Regions from separate parts of the Homo sapiens genome. Here region 2 is linked to region 1. Evidence: promoter capture Hi-C in 16 types of primary human blood cells and fetal thymus (Javierre and others, 2016). All regions are on one chromosome and are shown on one strand. Each heading gives the region's core, a stretch centred on a gene start or on the middle of the fragment in contact. The rest is flanking DNA. Distances are from core to core; before and after follow the strand shown. Region 1 holds the start of GPR45 (G protein-coupled receptor 45). Region 2 has its middle 13 kb from the start of LINC01918.

Region 1 (5,001 bases), core at 1,544-4,043:
CACAGTGCCTTACACCTAGTAGGCACTTAATGCATGCTCTTTGCATGGATGAATAAATGAATGCAGGGGATCTGATGACTACAGACAGAAAACACACATTTCAGAATCAGAGTGTTTGAGAGATGAAAGGGGACATTGGAAATCATCTAGATCTGCTTCCTCATTTGGCATATGGGGAAACTGAGGCCCACAGAAATGAGAAACGATCAAGGTCAAATGACTAGTTCCTGATAGAGTCAGACCTGGAATCAGATTTTCTAAATCTCTCCTTAAATTTCCCACCCTCTTCAGATCTGGAACAATAAAGAGAGCTCAGTGGGCTCAGTGCTATGCCCTGGACTCAGGACCCTCATATGCCAGTGTGGGGACCCCTGGTGGTGGCCGAATAGAGCACAAGCAGAGAAGCCCCCTTTGGGCAACTTCACTTCTGGGATCTGGTCCCAGTAGGTAAACAGGATGGCAGCAGTGGATCTGAATGAGGTAGGAGGAACACAGAGACCAGTGGGGACCCCGAGAATTGGGCTCGTTGGTGTGGCACCTGCAGCGGGTCCAGTGCTGAAGTGGATTTGGTGGGTTGAAGGGCTCTGGAGCTCCAGGGTGTCCAAAGGAAATGTGTAAACTAAGCCCAGCCTGCTCACTGCTGACACTGAAAGCAGGTCACTACAGATGCTTGCTCAGCGGGTGAGCTATAGCACACTGGATATGGATGGGAGGAAAACGAAGGGAGGCAGGGAGAGGGGTGGAGGAAAGAGGGAAGGGCCAAGGGGCTCTCCAGCAGACAGGGAGGCCTAGTGGCCTCAGGGTGCAGGGACGGGGTGGGCCCAGCAGGTGGGGGGCGCTGGGGACATGCAGGAGTTCCCGGATGTGCTTCTCACTTCAGCTGGGCTGCCCAGGACCTTCTCTGGGCTTCAAGCCTCTGAGGCCTCCCATGCGTCATTGCAGGGAGCTCAAAGCACAGAGGCTCACTCTGCTTCCCCGTGTGATTTTGGTTTCTTTCTAGAAAAGATACTTAGGCATGGGAAGAAATGCACATCTGATCAACATAAAGAACCTCATGTGAGTCCCCACACACCACAAACATCAATAGCTGAAGAACCCTGGTGTCAAACAAAATGAATGAACACCCAGGAGCTCACACCTACTGGGGTTTCTCAGGGTTTCTCTTGAGCAGGTGCAGAGAGGGCTCGCAGGGCAGGTTGAAGCTCTTGTGACTGACCAGTCCTCCTGCCCCACACTCAACCAGCTTCATTCCCTGTTGCCCTCCTCCTCCCTTTCTGCCCAACTTCTGCACTCCCCAGCCCACTCCATTTTTGACTTAATGACGTTGCAGTTCCCATCAGCCCCATATTTGGCTCTCTGCAAAGAGAAACAAAAATAATTCATCGTGCCAAAATTTGAAATTTGGGAGCTGCAGCTCATCTGATTACAAATGAGTACCTTTGTGCTTAAATTGCCACCACAAAGTGCAGACTATGACCAACATGCCAGGGAACAGAGCAGGACAGATCCACCCTGGGACTGGGGCTCAGCTGCCCCTTCTCTGTGGCCCCCTGACCCCCTAAACCGCAGACTGGTTTTCATTGCACACGTAGACTGTGCTTGGCTGGATTCTCCTTCGGATCCGCTCAGGCACTTTGGGGAGGATTTGGAAGGTCTGGGGCAGCAACTCTATGCAGGCCTCGCGGAATTTTTTGATTCTCCAGCAGTAGACGATGGGGTTGAAGACGGACTTGAGGTAACTGAGCCACAGGACGCAGGTGCTGGTGGCGTAGAAGGAGGAACCGCAGTAAAAGCGCTGGCTAAACACAGACAGGAGGCTGTAGACGGAGTGGGGCAGCCAGCAGAGGGAGAAGCCCACGAAGAGGATCAGGATGGTGGTGAAGGCCTTGGTCTTGAAGCTCAAGTCCACGCTGACCTGTTGCTGCCGCTGCAGGCGCCGCAGGCCCGCCCTGGTGAGCTGCCGCAGGTCCAGGCTGTCCGACTGGTTGTGCACGCGCACGGCGTTCTTGCGGACCGTGTTGAGGATGCACATGTAGGCGCACAGCATGACGCCAAAGGGCGCGAAGAACACGGCCACCACCAAGGTGACCACGTAGGCGCGGTCAGCGGGGAGCTCCGTGTAGCCCAGCACGCACTGTGGGGCCCGCGCCGGCACCTCCACCAGCGTCCAGCCCGTGAGCGAGGGCCCCGCGATGCAGAAGGACAGCACCCAGGAGACCGCGATGATCACCTTGGCCCTGCGCGGGTTCAGCTTGTCCTGGCGCTGGACGATGATGAGGAAGCGGTCCACGCTGATGATGAGCAGGATGGCCACGCCCTCCAGGACAAAAAACCAGTAGAGCGTGGCTGAGAGGCGGCAGAAGTGGTCCCCAAAGTGCCAGCGCACGGTGATGAGGGTGACGGCGGTGAAGGGCATGCAGCAGAGGGACAGCATGATGTCGGAGAAGGCCAGGGTGGCCAGCAGCAGGTTGATGGCCGAGCGCATAGCCGGCCTCTGGTACACGATGATGCAGACCACAGTGTTGCCCAGGAACCCCACCACGGTCATCAGCAGCATCACTATGGCCAAGGAGATCCTGAGGGGTGCGGGCAACTGGGTGGACCCCGAGTCTGAGGCGTTGCTGGTGTTCAGCAGCAGGTATGTGTAAGCCTCAAGGGACGTGCTGTTGCAGGCCATCGTGGAGAGACCCTTGGAGCTGGGACAGAAATGGCCGGGAGGGCTCCCCTCAGCACTTGGGTGGCTGCCATTCTTTGTCTGCTGGCTGCATCTTCCTGGATGTCTGTGGACCTCTGGGGCACTGGAATGGTCTTGGGGAGAAATGTCCGTCTTTGTGAGCACTAGCTGGGATTTGCGATTCATGGATCACATCCTAAGCATCTCTGTGGAGAGCGACTCTGTGCACAGCTTCGTGCTTGGACCCTCTGTAGTGGACAGCAAGCAAAAGTACAAAAGAGAAGGGGGTTAGAGTTTCCAAACGCGTTGAAGAAAGCACGCGTTTAAGCTTTACAGGTGTTTCTAAACAAGTTTATTTACCACGTGGGACAAAGCTTGATATTCACAAATACTGTCTGAGTCTTGTCAAGCAGCCCAGAAAAACCTAATCAGCTATCTTCTGAGGAAACTGAGGAAGTACACTTTGTAGTTAGTGTTTATGTAATAACTTGAGTTTTCAGCAACCTGTCGGAATGAAGCCTTGGTCTAGCCAACTAACGTTAGAATCCTGCTCCACAAGAGAAAGGTTTTGCTTGTTTCATTCTCTGCTATCTCCCAGTACTGACAACAGTGGCTGGCATGCAGTAAGTGTCCTTGTTGAGGACACTTGGATGCTTGTTGAGTAGATGAATAAGTGATAGTTGATGCTGCTGCTATAATATTTGTTTAGCTTTAAAAAACCCCACTTCATCGAGGAATGACTGACATGTCAAAAGCTGTACAAATTTACATCTCAATATACCAGAAACCCATCACCACCAAGGCCAAAAACATATCCCACTCCCCCTGCCAAAGCTCTCTCCTGCCATTTTTCTAGTATTATCATTTTGTTTTGGTGGTAAGAATACTTCACCTAAGATCTGCCCTCTTAGCAAATTTTAAGTATACATTTTTAAGTTTTAATTTTTTAAAAGAAATTGTAAGTCTGTTTGTTTAACTTTATTTGATAAGTGTAAATTCACATGGATAAGTGTAAATTCACATGGAGTTATAATAATAAATACTATGGTGAAATTCTGTGTGTCCTTCACCCAGTTTTCCCTAATGGTAACATCTTGGATAACTGTGGGGCTGCTATACTATTACTTCTGGAAGCACAGACTGGGAGAAGGGAACTTTCCCCAAAGGTAAGGCCTTTTAAAATACAATGTTAGCTGGGTGCAGTGGCTCATGCCTATAATCCCAGCACTTTGAGAGGCAGAGACAGGAGGATTGCTTGAGGCCAGGAGTTCAAGACCTGCCTGGGCAACATAGAGAGATCCCATCTCTACACACACAAAAAAATGAGCCAGGCTTCCATCTATAGTCCCTGCTACTCAGGAGGCCGAGGCAGGAGGATTGCTCAAGCACAGAAGTTCGAGGCTGTCGTGAGCTAAGAAGGTGTCACTGTACTCCAGCCTGGGTAACAGAGTGAGACCCTGTCTCTTAAAAAAAAAGTAAATGAAATGAGCTTTTATTCCTTACATTCTTGATAAACTTGCTTTCACTTTCAAAAAGATAAATATAATTTTAATTTTGTCTCACTGATGTGGCAAGAGTGTGTTCAGTAGCTCAGGTCTGAAGTCACATCGCCTGGGCTGGGGGAAATCCAGCCTGCGCCATTTATCCACCCTGGACATCTGGCTGTTGGATGCACCTCTTCTTGTAAGAAATTTCTCTTTTCTAAATTCCTTGTGGTCATTGTTACAGATAACTCACACTGAGAGGAATGTGGGCAATGTAAGAAGCCAGGAGGCCTCAGAGCAGGCTTAGAGGACCTGGGAGTGGCAGTGTCTTGGTGATGCTATACTTCAGTTTAGACCCAACCAATCCTTGGTCTTCCTTCCCAAACACACCCAGAATGGGTTCATCTCTCAGTGGTGGGCACCAGTATCCAAACTTTTTCTGAGCTATAAAAATCAGAAACCTGGTGTGTTAATTTATAAGTGGGAATTATCTCTCATTCAGACCAAAATTATGACCCTTCTTCATCTCAATTTTCTGATCTGTGAAATGGAGGTAATTACATATTTACCTCCAGAGTTGGTAAATATAATGTGCAATGTCTGGTAAAAGAAGGGCATTAATAAATTAACTCCATCTCCCTCACTGTTTCAAGTTTAGGGGTTTCTGTCTCTTGGATTAAACTGCAAATTTGTTCATGGCAGGAACCATGACATGCATGTAGGAAGCCCTAATGGATTAAGCTCCTCTTGGAGCACAGAATAAAGGACCACTGAGAAAAAACACAGTATCGTGCATCCATGTGCCTGTCAATCTTAGCCGATAGTGAATCCTTCATCTGCATT
Region 2 (5,001 bases), core at 1,034-3,533, 110 kb after region 1:
TAGCATGTGTGAGAACTTCTTTCCTTATTCTGGCCAGATAACATTCCACTATGTGTATATGCCACATTTTGTGTATCCATTCATTCATTGATGAACACTTGAATTGCTTCCACCTTTTGGCTATTGTAAATAATGCTGCTGTGAATATTGCTGTACCAGTATCTGTTTGAGTCTTGTTCTGAATTATTTTGGGTATAAACCTAGGAGTGAAATTGCTGAGTCGTATGATGATTATATGTTCAGCATTTTAAGGAAGTGTCAAACTATTTTCCATACCACTAACAATTCTAATATCTCCACATCCTTGCCAACACTTGTTACATTCTGATTATTGTTATTATAGTCATCCTTGTAGGCATGAAGTGGTATCTCATTGTGGCTTTGATTTGTGTTTCCCTAATGACTTAAGATATTAGGTATATTTTCATGTGCTTATTGGCCATATATATATTTCTTTGGAGAAATGTCTATTCAAGTCCTTTGCTGTTTTTTAATTGTGTTGTTTGTCTTTTTATTGTTGAGTGTTAAGAGTTCTTTATATATTCAGGATATTAATCCTCATCAGATAAATAATTTCCAAATATTTTCTTCTATTCCATAGGCTGTTTTTTTACCCTCTTAACAATCATCCTTAGATGGAAAAAGTTGTACAGTTTGATGAAGTCCAATTTATTTTTTCATTTGTCACTTATGCTTTTGGTCAGTCAGAGAAGGAGCTGTGATGACAGAAGTGGAGGTTGGAGTAATACCACTCCTGGGAAAGGGTCATGAGCAGAGGAAAGCAGATGCCCCTAGAAGCTGAAGAATACAAGGAATGGATTCTCCCCTAAAAGCCCAGTGCCCAATCCAAGGTTATGAAGACTCACCCCTATGTTTTCTTCTAAGATTTTTTTTTTTTTTTTTTTTGAGACGGAGTCTCGCTGTCGCCAAGGCTGGAGTGCAGTGGTGAGATCTTGGCTCACTGCAAGCTCCGCCTCCCAGGTTCACGCCATTCTCCTGCCTCAGCCTCCCAAGTAGCTGGGACTACAGGCGCCCGCTACCATGCCTGGCTAATTTTTTTGTATTTTTAGTAGAGACGGGGTTTCACCGTGTTAGCCAGGATGGTCTCGATCTCCTGACCTCGTGATTCGCCCACCTCGGCCTCCCAAAGTGCTGGGATTACAGGCGTGAGCCACCGCGCCCGGCCTCTTCTAAGATTTTTATAGGTTTCTTTCTTATATTTAGATCATTGATCTTTTTTGAGCTAAGTTTTATTTATATGTGAGGTAGGGGGTCTAACTTCATTCTTTTGAATGTGGAAATCCAGTTGTCCCAGCACCATTTGTTGGAGAGACTATTCTTTCCCCATTGACAGAGTTGGCACCTTATCAAAAATCAATTGGCCACACATGTATGATTAATTTCTGGACTCTCAATTCTATTCCATTGGTCAGTGTGTCTATCTTTATGCCAGTACCATATTGCTTTGATTACTTTAGCTTTATAGTAAGTTTTGAAATCAGGAGATGTGGGTCTTCCACCTTTGTTCATTTTTTCCAAGATTGTGTGGCTATTTGGGGTCCCTTGCAATTACATATAAATTTGAGGGTTGGCTTTCCCAGTTCTGCAAAGAACACTGTTGGAATTTGAACAAGGATGGTGTTAAATCTCTAGATTGCTTTGGGTAGTGTTATTATCTTAACAATATTAAGTCTTTCCATCTAGAACACGGGATGTCTTTTCATCTATTTAGATCTCCCTTCTTTCAACATGTTTTTTAGTTTTCAGTGTGCAAGTCTTTCACTTCCTTGGTTAATTTTATTCTCTGGTATATTATTCCTTTTAGGTCATTATAAGTGAAACCATCTTCTTAATTTTCTTTTTGGATTGTTCATTGCAAGTGTTTAGAAACAAAACTGATTTTTATGTGTTGATCTTGTACCCTGAAGCTTTGCTGAATGTATTTATTAGCTCTAGTAGCTTCCATGTAGATTCTTTGGAATTTTCTATATGTAGGATTATGTTATCTGAAAATAGAGACAGTTTTACTTCTTCCTTTGCAATTTGGATGACTTTTATTTCCAAAATATATAATTAGATCAACATATTTAGCAGTTGATGCAGCCCTCACTTTGGGTCCTTGGCCTGTGGGGTAAGAGGTACTGCGAGAATGGCCAAGTGGAAACCTCTGAAACTGCCCACCTTTCCACCCAGACAAGATAGTTGGTCATAAATAATATTGCATGAGGTGGTGGCAATGCAGATATTAGGGACACTTTTAAGAGTGTAAAGGATACAGAGATTGTAAGCCCTATCATATCTCCTTTTGATCACCAGTTAAACTGGTTGGATCCTGGAGGAAGACTATAGATATACCACAGGTTCAACCAAGTCATGCCCTGATTGCAGCTGCTGCATTAGGTGAGGTGGCTTTGCTAAAGCAGGGTGATGGCCTTAGTCTCTTTGAGCTGCTTTAACAAAATACTTTAAACTGGGTAGCTTGCAAGAACAGAAATTTATTTCTCACAGTTCTGGAGGCTGAGTAGTCCGAGATCAAAGCATTGGCAGATTTGGTATCGATTCACTTTCTGGTTCATAGATGGTGCTTCTCACTGTGTCTGTACATTGTGGAAGAGGCAAGGAGTCTCTCTCAAGCTTCTTTTATTAGGGCACTAACTAATCTCATTCATGAGGGCTCTGCCTTCATGACCTAATCCCCTCCCAATGGCTGTACCTCCTAATGCCATCGCTTTGGGTGTTAGCGTTTCAACATATGAATTTTGGGTAGACATAAATATCCAGAATACAGCAGCGATTCAAAATGAGGCACATGCTATGCAGCCATTGATCCAGCAAATGTGTTATTTTCTATCACAATTAGAAAAAGAGGATCAGAAATAGTTCACTTTCACATGGAACAGACAACAATATACATATACAGTTTCCCCTGAGGTTATGTTAACTCACTCTCTGTTGTAATGTTGTCTGAAGATATCTGCACTATCTGGACCATCTGCATTGATCCATTACATAGCTGACATCATGTTGACTGGGCTAGATAAGCAGGAGGTGGCTAGGACATTGGAGGCCTTGGTAAGGCACATGTGCTCCAGAAGGTGGGAGAAAAACCCCTACAGAGATTTGAGGACTGGCCACATTGGTAACATTTTTAGGGGTTCTATGGACAGAAACATGCTGGAACATCCCTTCAAAATGAAAGACAAATTATTCCATCTTGCACCTCTCATGGTGAAGAAGGAAGTATAATGCATGGTGGACCTCTCTAGTTTTTGGAGGGGGCCTGTGTCATGGCATCTTCTATACCACTTCTGCCCATGTACTAGTAACATAAATTTCTCCCAGCTTTGAGTGGGGCCCAGAATGAGAAATGGCTCTGCAGTGGGTCTAGGCTTCAGGGCAAAAATTTATGCCACTTGGACCTTACGGTATTGGAAATATCAATGTAGGAAAAGATGATGTGTGGAGTTTGTGACAGGGTCCAATGGAAGAATCTTGTCACAAGACCCTGAGGTTCTGTAATGAGGCCATGCTGTCTTTTGACAAGCATCTTCTGCTATGCCACTACATCCTGGTAGAGTCACGTCTCCTGACCACAAAACAGCAAGTGACCAGTGACCAGGCAGGAAGAATTACCTATCACGAGCTGGTTCCTGGCAGACTCCCCAAGTCATAAGGTTGGGTGGACTCATAAGCAATCCTCTGTAAGATGTTAGATGCATTCAGGCATTCCAGACTCAAGGGAATGCATGCGCAAACGTTCCAAACCTCGATGACATCTACCTCTGTTGTACCAGTTCCCCTAATCTCAATTCACATCTATGGCCCTGTGTGTGTGTGTGGGTCCTTTACAACCACAAGAAAGAGGAAGAGAAAGCCTGAGCTGGGGCTGCAAATGGGTTGGCTTGGTATGTGGGTGGAAGCTGCAAATGGATATCAAGTACACTACAGCCTATGCTGCAACAACTACTACTTTCAAGGGTGACCTTGAAAGACAATGGCAAGGGAAAATATTTGCAAAGGCCAGAGCTTTGAGCAGTATACTTTATCAATGACATTGTATGAGAAGGGAAGTAGCATGAGTTAGAATATATATTGACTCCTGGGCAATGGTGAATGGCCTGGTTGACTGGTTAGGAGCCCAAAAGGAAGAAGATTGGAATATCACGTACAAAGAAGTCTAGGGTAAAGTCATGTGGATGGATGTGTGGGAGGCATCATGAAGAATGAAGATAATTGTAAAACATGTTGTCTTCCATAAGAGTGCATCCACCTTGGAAGAGACACTAACTTGTCAACATTACTGATATTTTGGGCCATATAATTCTTTGTTGTGGGGACTGTCCTGTGCATTGTAGGATGTTTAGCAGCATCTTTGGTCTGTATCAACTAGACACCACTAGCACCCTCCCACTTGTGACAACCAAAAATGTCTTAGGCATTACTAAATGCCCTCAAAAGAAGGGTGGGCAAAATCGTCTCAGTTGAGAATCATTGTGCTAAACAACCAAATAGACAAAATGAGTCAAATATTTGATGGCCAGCCAGTCTCTATCACTAGCCACTCCACTGCTGGCATGGTGAGCACATGAATTAAATGGCCAAGGCAGCAGAAATGGAGGGTACACATGGGTAGAATAGCATAGATTCCTACTTACCAAGGCTGTTCTTGCCACAATCTCTGCCAGGTATCTGACCTGCCAGCAACACACACGGACAATAGGCCCTAATATGGTACCACTCCTCAGAGTCCAGTTGGTCAGTTGGCAAGATGATTACACTGGACGTCTTTCTTTCTGGAAGGGTCAATGGTTCATTTTCACAGGAAAGATACACATTCTGGATCGAAGTTTGCCTTTCCCGTTCATGCGGCCTTGGCACCACCATCATAGGCTTACATGGTGTTTGAGTCACTGGCATGTGAGCCCGTATCATGCATATCTTTTTATTCTGATGCTTTGTCATGTGGGTCCTTGTTGACCATAGGGAAGCTGCCCTTCTTTT

What was found. Contacts are between HindIII fragments. The CHiCAGO score rates a contact against its expected background, and 5 or more counts as called.
Region 2: a fragment that was not itself captured here is called in contact with the fragment with the promoter of GPR45 in region 1 in 2 of 17 cell types (naive B cells and total B cells); the score reaches 6.1 in naive B cells.

What each region holds. Positions count from the first base shown.
Region 1 is chr2:105,239,535-105,244,535 of GRCh38, reverse strand. GPR45 (G protein-coupled receptor 45) reads right to left here and starts at 2,793. Exons shown (of 1, transcript NM_007227.3): 1 at 1,069-2,793. The coding sequence starts at 2,677. The coding sequence ends at 1,559. The HindIII fragment of the contact is 10,787 bases long and covers 1-3,004 here.
Region 2 is chr2:105,128,743-105,133,743 of GRCh38, reverse strand. No RefSeq gene overlaps it. Among named protein-coding and RNA genes, the nearest start is that of LINC01918, 13 kb to the left of the region's middle. The HindIII fragment of the contact is 706 bases long and covers 1,931-2,636 here.